2 separate regions of the Homo sapiens genome follow, and region 1 is linked to region 2. Evidence: promoter capture Hi-C in 16 types of primary human blood cells and fetal thymus (Javierre and others, 2016). All regions are on one chromosome and are shown on one strand. The core of a region is centred on a gene start or on the middle of the fragment in contact, and the rest is flanking DNA. Distances in the headings are between cores, read along the strand shown. Region 1 overlaps ASIC1 (acid sensing ion channel subunit 1). Region 2 holds the start of CERS5 (ceramide synthase 5).

Evidence for each region. The method cuts DNA at HindIII sites, captures the fragments that hold promoters and counts their contacts. A CHiCAGO score of 5 or more calls a contact.
Region 1: a fragment that was not itself captured here is called in contact with the fragment with the promoter of CERS5 in region 2 in 1 of 17 cell types (total B cells); the score reaches 5.7 in total B cells.

The regions. Positions count from the first base shown.
Region 1 is chr12:50,060,807-50,065,450 of GRCh38, forward strand. All of the region lies in intron 3 of ASIC1 (acid sensing ion channel subunit 1), which reads left to right. Among named protein-coding and RNA genes, the nearest start is that of ASIC1, 5.5 kb to the left of the region's middle. The HindIII fragment of the contact is 4,941 bases long and covers 1-4,383 here.
Region 2 is chr12:50,166,074-50,170,054 of GRCh38, forward strand. CERS5 (ceramide synthase 5) reads right to left here and starts at 1,296. Exons shown (of 10, transcript NM_147190.5): 1 at 1,028-1,296. The coding sequence starts at 1,224. RefSeq lists enhancers at 643-782, 1,673-1,832, 1,884-2,645 and silencers at 923-1,072, 1,173-1,572. The HindIII fragment of the contact is 9,101 bases long and covers 1,194-3,981 here.

The DNA.
Region 1 (4,644 bases), core at 663-3,162, 100 kb before region 2:
AAGAGACCAGAGGCTCCAGAGCCATGCAGGAACAATAACACCAAATGAATGGACAATGCTTGTAACTCTTTCAAATGCTTTCTAGGCTCCCCTCAATCCCCTTGATACATAATCACATTACCTCTGTTTTACAAATGCACGAAACTGAGACACAGGCAGAATGATTTACCCAAGCTCACACAGTTAGTGACAGGTGACAGGTTCAGGATTAGAACTCATGTCTTGTTAAGCTGAAAATGTCCTTTACTCTTTTAATTAATATTGTGGACCCTGGGGTTATTGTGTCCACTTCAAATTCTTGCCAGTCTTTTCCAGGACCCTTTGCTCTCCATGCCTACTCAGCTCTTGGATTCTCTTCCTTCTTCCTGCCTATTTTCTCCCCGCTTGCTTGCTTCCTCCTGCAGTATGGGAATATGAACTGTATTTGTGCAGAAAGGATGGCACCATAGTCATGCTTAGTGTTTCTAGCTGTGCAAGACCTCCCAATATCCTTAAGCCTTGCTCTGCAGACCAGTTTCACTGGCCTTTGTCAATCCTGCTGGACAAAGTTCACATGACTGCACTCTTTGCTGAGCCAAGCTGATGGGGAGCTTAGCCAAGATGCAAGAACCACTTCCTTCCCTCTCTTACTGCTTCATAACAGGAGAGTCCTGGATTCCCCAGAGCTTGAGACCAGAGGGTTTGCAGTCTCACAAGTGATGCTCCCAAGAGTAACAGGACTGTAGGTGAAGGTGGAAGCAAAAGCCAGAGCCGCCTCCCTCCAACACACCCAACACACAAGCAGGAGGGACCCGTGAGAAAGATGGAGAAAACGTATTTGTTTGAGTGGTTTGTAGTGTTGGATGAGGGAGAGAAGTGCTTGGCTCAATCTGAGGAGGTGCTAAGATATAAATTTGGGCACAGTTAGTCCATAGAAAGTATTCAGTTGAGGCTCCATCTGTCCATCATGTCCAGAAAGATTCCAAGTGGTGATGCTAAGATAACATTTGGTTGATGGTAATGGAGACACTGAGATGTGATTGGTCCATGCTGTCTGAGGGGACCATTCTAAGTAGTCAGATGGAGATGTGATTGGCTCACAAAGTTCTGGAGCAGTCTGAATTATTCCTCTTACTCAGGGGTAAAGACACACAGGCTAGCACCCTGCAGCCCCAGCTGTGCCCCTTCTTGCTTCTGGGTTGTCAGGGAAGACCAGGTTTTTGCTGTTTTGCAGCCCATGTCAAAGACCTGACCCTGAATTTTGCTGGACTCAAACCTCTCACTCCTCCCTCTGCTCTCTTCAGTTGGTTTCATTGCCAGCCCCTCTCCATGTCAAGAGCTCTACCCATAGGGATGTTCCCACACAGATGGGCGTCTGGCTGGAGTCCATGTCTGACACCTCCCCGGTGGAGAAGGGCCTGGCAGTCTCTCTCCTCCAGCTCCCCAGTCCTAAGGGCTCCCACACTCCTTGCCTGATACTCCATGCTCTCCCTTCTCTCCTCAGTCTTGTGATTAACATCCTTGCCATTCTCTGCTAGGCCAAGAGGTGTGTTGGGAGTGTGTCTCTAGCCCTGGGCAGATGTAGCACTGACAGGAAACACCTGTCTATAGGGTCGATCTAAGGGAGACCATCTTGGCATCTTCTGCAGCCTTCAGAGCAGAGGTTCTTCACTGAGGAAAGAAGGTAGTCAGGGAAGAGAGGCTTTGTGGTTAGGGCTTTGCTTGCTCTTTCAGTAGCTCAGGAAGAAGCTGCTGGGCCCCATCCAACAGGATTGCTGTGGGATACCACCCCCCACTGTCCAAGACCTTGCTCAATGCTTTTGCAAAGTATAGCGTGCGGGGGCACGTGTGGACTCTTTTGTAGATTTCTAAGGGCAACCCTCTTCTCAACAATAAGAACCCTGTTTCTCAAGGCTGGTTGGGGGAGGCATAAGAAGACAATTCAGGGAGGCTACTCTGGTCACTCAAAGACCCCAGCTCCCCTGATGAGGATCTGCAGTAACAGGCATTTCTCCAGATGTGCTCCTGGATCTAGCTCAACCCCAGGGAATAGTTGGTGGTCACAAAGCATTTGGCCAGGGTCCATCCCCCAGGTGTGGCTGAGTCAGCTTGGGAGGGTGGGGGTGAATATGGGGAGCCTGAGCTGAATCTGGGAGAGACTGGTTTGGAAATCCTTCGGGACTGAAGAGGGAGAAGGGCAGGGCAGGGAGTATCCCCACAGCAACCTGGCTGGGAAGGTTTCAATAGCTGCCTCCTGAGCAACCACAGTGACCCAACCACAAGGCCCCCTCTTCCCGGCCACCTCCTTTTCTTCCTGGTAGGGTGTGTTGTTGCCAAGACAATGGGGTCCATGGCTCCTCTCTCCTGCCCCACCTTGAGGCCAGCCAGGCCAAGGCAGGGCAGGGATTCCATGGAGGGGGGCTGGGGTGCAGCTGTCTGCTGGTGTCTGGGTGGGGGCCAGAGAAGTGAGCACAGTCGCAGCTGGTGCCATCCTCCAGCTGCACCTTATCTGTCCCTGGCAGTGGGAGCAGCTGATGTGGCCAGAATGCTGAGCAGCAGCAAGGGGAGGGGGCTGGCAGATGGTCACCCAGTCTGCCCTATGCCACCCCCTCCTCCGCTGAGACCTAGACCCTTTGCCTAGCGGAGAGAGAAGCAGGAATTCATTTCTGGGGCCTGGAAGAGAAGGAAGAGGAGGACAGAGTGGAAATGCTGGGGTGGACATGTGGTGTGACTCATAATCTCTCTCAGGAGGGTGAAATTGGGGGACAGGAATCCCTGGGAGGGGTCCACAGGAGTCCTTCTCAGGACCCTGGATTGGAGACCAGAATCTCCCAGGGAAGAGGTGGAGTGAATGGGGATGAGCACAGAAGCCTCCCCTGCAATCCACTGCTAGGTTCTGAAGGGGCCCGGGCATCCCCTGGAGCACCTAGGGAAGTAAGATGCTGCAATGAGAGGTGGCTGTGGGCGCCTGATCCTGGGACCCAAAGTGGGGAGAGAGAAGTCATCTTAAAGCAGGAGAGCCAGGGATGGCAGTGCCCAGCAAGAGCCAGGACTAGCATGGAGTTTATTCATCCCTAGGGCTCACCCCTCATCCCCACACCCCATGCTGCCCCATAGAAGCTCAGACCAGAAGTCCCTTGGGAGGGCCTGACCTTACTACTGGGGTCTGCACCCTCCAGCTAGGCAGGGAGTGGAGGGGCTGCTGAAGGGAAAGGCTGCCCAGACTGCCATGCAGACAGGGGAAGGGGAATCTTGGGCAGCCCCACCCAGAGGCCTGGTGGTCTTCATGGGTGGGAAGGGGGAACATGCACAGATTGCAGAGGGATAGAAGAGGCCGACCTGGAGACAGTAACTTTAGAGGAGGGGTTCATGGGGTTCATGAACTTTGGGGGAAGGGTTCCTGCCCTAGGGGTTCATGGCTACCACCTCCTGCCTTATCCTTCTCATCTGTCCCTCTCTCCTAGGAAGTGCCTAAACTGAACACAGGTGGGTGGAGAGAGGAGATGGGAGCAGAGCCCATTGCAGTTGCAGGAATCCAGTGGGTGGTCCCTGGGTTGGGGTCTCAGATGTCTCCTTTTGCCTCTCTCTCAGACACAGATACACACAAACATCCTTCAGGTAGCCCAATTTCCTCTCTCACCTCTTCCCCTTCTCCCCAGACCCCAGCCATTTCTGACTCCATCCCTCTCTCAGACAGCTATCAGCTAAGAACTACTCTAAGCTAATTGACCTGGGGGCTGTTGGCTAAAGCAATAGGGAATTCAGTAACTAAGTGCCTCTGGGGGCCAAGCCTGGAAGTGGAGGGCTGGGGAGGAGCACCTCTAAGTCTTGGGACTTTGTCACTGCCCAGCTGGTGGAGAACTCCTGGATATGGCCACTGCATGCCCAGTGTGTCCTGGAGGCAGAAGGGCAGGCCCACAGAGAGGCTTGGAATGTTCTGCTGTGGATGGAGGTTGCTTCTGAGTGTGTTTCAGTTTTGTGGAAAGTAATTTCAATTCTCTGGGGATAGCGAGGGAGACAGAATATTCAGAATGAGAAGCTGGGATTAGGGGAGCGTTAAGCTCCACTGGATTCATTCCCATAGCAGACAGTGCCACTTCCATGTGCCAGGTCCTGCGCTGGGGCAGTTAAGTGCAGCACGGAAGGTTCAGGGCTGAGAGCCATGGGGGTGGTACTAAAGGGGGCCCAGTGGGGTGGGCTTCAGAACAAGGGGGAACATGCTGGGGATGAGCAGACTCTCAACATCCAGGGGGAGTCCTCCCAATCTCCCCAGCCAAACTCAGCCTCTCGGAAAATGCCAGGTTCATAGAATATGTTGGTGTCTCCCCAGCTAACTAAATCAACCGGCCAATTCTCTCCGGCCATTCTTCCGCCTTGGCCAACCCCTGCCCACCCCCACCCCCAAGCTTTCCCTCACTTGTATGTTTGGGGTGGCCAATGCAGAAGCCTCTACCTTCTGACCTATAACGTCCCAGTCAGGACCCTTAGGTGTGCATTCTGGGAGGCAAAGCTGGAAGGAGACAGCGAGAATGAGAAGGGGTGCCTAGCTGGGTGGAGGATAGGACTGGGCATTAGGGCTCCTGGTCTCTATTTTGGGCAAAGTTCCACCTGGCCCCACTTCTTAGCTTCTAAGCCCAATCTCCTGTAAGGAGGTTGTAAAATTAT
Region 2 (3,981 bases), core at 46-2,545:
GCACTTTGGGAGGCAGAGGCGGGCGGATCACTTGAGGTCAGGAGTTACAGACCAGCCTGGCCAACATGGCGAAACCCCGTCTCTACTAAAAATACAAAAAGTAGCCGGGCGTGGTGGCGCGTGCCTGTAATTCCAGCTACTCGGGAGGCTGAGGCAGGAGAATCGCTTCAACAGGGGAGGCGGAGGTCGCGGTAAGCCGAGATCGTGCCATTGCACGCCAGCCTGGGCAACAAGAGCGAAACTCTGTCTCAAAAAAAAAAAAAAAAAAAAGAAAAGAAAAAAGAATCTGGCTCAATATAGCTGTCCTCTGATAAAGCCCTGTGGCTCTCCTCCATCCCTTCGAACACACTCCTCCTTCCATTTCAGGCCCCAAGGCCTGTTCTGCAACTAATCTGACATCTTTCCATTACTTTGGAAGCCTAGGGCTCCACCACACCCTATCCCAACCAGATTTCTACCCTCCTACCAACAAACGTGCATGAGTTGACATACCAAACCAACTCTTAGGGCCAAACTAATCCTGTTCCCCCCAATTCTCGGAAACTCAAGCGTCCTAACAAATCTTAAGAGTCTGATGAGTCCATTCCTTTCCCTTGGAACGTCTGGCCCTTGCGTTGACCCCTCGGCTTCCATGGTCACAACTAGCTCTGGTTCTCCTGGCCCCTTCCTATCCCTCTCTTCGGGGCCTCTGCCAGAGCTCACACTGAACCTGTTTCCTCATCTGTAGGACCCTTGGAGGTTGGGAGGAGGCCTATATGACCCCCCCAATCCAACTCCGGATCTAACATTGAAGGGGCCCAGCATTCCCCTAGACCCTCACTCTTTCTCTTGCCCACGCCCCAAACTCCTTCTCCATCTAGGCTACCACCTCGCCCACGCGCCTAGCATCACCCGCCGCGGCCCAAGCTCCCCCAGCCCCTGCTTCCGGGCTTTCCTTGCAGTTCTGCTTCCGGCCCTCGGCCCTTCCCACAGCGGGGCGCCCCCGGCCCGCGCCCGGCCCCCGAGCCGCTCGCTCCCGGGCTCTCACCGCTCGAAGAGCAGCCTCACGAAGAAGATGCCCGCCGCCAGCGGGAACACCGAGAGGATGTGCCGGCCGCGGGGGTAACCGTAGCCGTCGGCCGGCCCCTCCAGATCAGCCCAGCTCACGTTCTCGGGTAGCCAGAAGCGCTCGCTCCACAGCCAGCCCCACAGCAAGCTTAGGGGTCCCTGCGCTGCTGTCGCCATCTTACGCCCACCCCGAAGCCACCGCCGCCACAAGCGTCAGCTGCCGCCACAGCCAACGGAACCCGCGGGGAGGCGGCCCCAGGGCGGGGCCCGGCCGGCGGCCACCCCCTTCCGGCCCCTTCTGGTCACTGCCACGGATCCGCCCGCCTCCCTGGCAGGGCCGGGCCTCTTCACCGCCCATCTCTCCTCCCGGCCCACTTCCCTCACTGCAACCCGGGGACCGCCTCCGGGGATCCACGCCCCTTCCCGAGCCTCTGACTCGCCCAGCCCGGCCCTGGGACCACGCCTCGGGCGGCCCTGGGCCCGCCCTCTTTTGCTGCTGGTCTAGGCCACGCTTCTACTCCTCCCTCACTCTTCCATCCAGCTACGGCCACACCCCTTATTTCAGGCCTAGCTCCTTTACGGGGACATTCTCCTTTCTCAGCCTGTTGGAATCGAATCCGTTCCGGCTCCCACCCAGGCGGTACCTCTGTCTCCACTCCCGGAGGCCAGATCGATCTCTCAGGTCAGGGCTTCTCTTGGATGTCAGCTGGTCCTGCCCACTACTGTCCGCCACTAGAGTTCTTTTCGCTCCCAACCTTTTCTTCCCTTCGTGCCCCGTGACCTCAGCCTACTTTCACTGCTTTATCCCTTAAAAATTAGTCACTTTTCCTCAGAAAAAATGGACTTAACAGTTTACAAAAGGCCGGGCGCGGTGGCTCACGCCTGTAATCCCAGCACTTTCAGAGGCCGAGGCTGGCGGATCACCTGAGGTCAGGAGTTCGAGACCAGCCTGGCCAACATGGCAAAACCCCGTCTCTACTAAAAATACAAAAATTAGCTGGGCCTGGTGGCGCTGTGCCTGTAATCCCAGCTACTCGGAAAGCTGGGACAGGAGAATCGCTTGAACCTGGGAGGCGGAGGTCGCAGTGAGCCGAAATCGCGCCATTGCACTCCAGCCTGGGCGACAGACCAAAGACTCCGTCCCAAAATAAAAATAAAAAAAGTTTACAAAAATCCTTTTATTCTTCTCTTGGGGAAAAGGAAATGGAAGAAAAACAAAGTGAAAAGGGAAGCACTCAAAAAGTATACGTAAAGGCAGGCCGGGTGTGGTGGCTCACGCCTGTAATCCCAGCACGTTGGAAGGCCAAGGCGGAAGAATCACCTGAGGTAAGGAGTTCGAGACCAGGCTGGCCATGGTGAAACCCCGTCCCTACTAAAAATACAAAAATTACCCGGGTGTGGTGGTGCATGCCTGTAATCCTAGCTACTCGGGAGGCTGAGGCAGGAGAATTGCTTGAGGCGGAGATCACAGTGAGCCGAGACCACGCCATTGCCCTCCAGCCTAGGCAACAGAGCGTCTCAAAACAAAAACAAACAAAAAAAGGCCGGGCGCGGCTCACGCCTGTAATCCCAACACTTTGGGAGGCCGAGGCGGGCGGATCATGAGGTCAGGAGATCGAGACCATCCTGGCTAACACGGTGAAACCCCATCTCTATTAAAATACAAAAAATTAGCCAGGCATGGTGGCGGGCGCCTGTAGTCCCAGCTACTTGGGAGGCTCAGGCAGGAGAATGGCGTGAACCCGGGAGGCGGAGCTTGCAGTGAGCCCAGATTGCGCCACTACACTCCAGCCTGGGCGACAAAGTGAGACTCGTCTCAAAAAAAAAAAAAAAAAAAGTATATCTAAAGGACCTAAAGGCAAAACAAAATAAATAGCCAATGTTTGATGAGGTTTCCTGTGTGCCAGGCACTGCATGGAACATTTTACACAGGTTATTTCACTCCTTCACCCTATAAAGTTGATCTTGTTATCCCCACTGGATAAGTAAACTGAGGTCCAGTGAGGCCAAACAACTTGCCCAAAGTTATGTAGGTAAGAAGTGGTAGCTAGTGTTAAGTCAAGTTTAATCTAAAGCTGCCTCCTTACATATTTAAGTTCGGCCTAAAGGTTTTCTGTACATTGTGAACTGTAACAAGTGGAGGTGTAAATCGAACGTAGACCACACCAGTGCCAATCACTGAATTTTGGCCAATCAAATGTAGCCAACTGTTCCAACCACGTTCAAATGAGACAAACGCTGATCTGTAACCAATCTGGTTGTTTCTGTACCTCACTTTCATTTTGCTGTCCATAAATCTTCCACCACGTGAATATGCTGGGTCTCTGTGGATATGCTGGGTCTCTCTGAATCTGCTGTGATTCAGGGGCTGCCCAATTTGAGAATCATACATTGCTCAAACTCCTTTAGGCTGGGCACGGTGGCTCACGCCTGTAATCCTAGCACTTTGGGAGGCCGAGGCAGGCGGATCACAGGTCAGGAGATCGAGACCATCCTGGCTAACATGGTGAAACTCCGTCTCTACTAAAAATACAAAAATTAGCTGGGCGTGGTGGTGCGTGTCTGTAGTCCCAGTTACTTGGGAAGCTGAGGCAAGAGAATCGCTTGAACCCAGGAGGCGGAGGTTGCAGTGAGCTGAGATAGCACCACTGCACTCTATCCTGGGCAACGGAGTGAGACTTTGTCTTGGAAAGAAAAAACAAAACAAACAAACAAACAAAAAACTCCTTTAAATTTGGCTGTTTTGTTTGTTTGCATGTTTTTTTGTGAGAAGGAGTCTCACACCCAGGCTGGAGCGCAGTGGTGCCATTTCTGCTCACTGCAACCTCCACCTCTGGGTTCAAGAGATCCTCCCTTCTCAGCCTCCCGAGTAGCTGGGACTACAGACACGTGCCACCACACCCGACTAATTTTTGTATTTTTTGATAGAGCCTG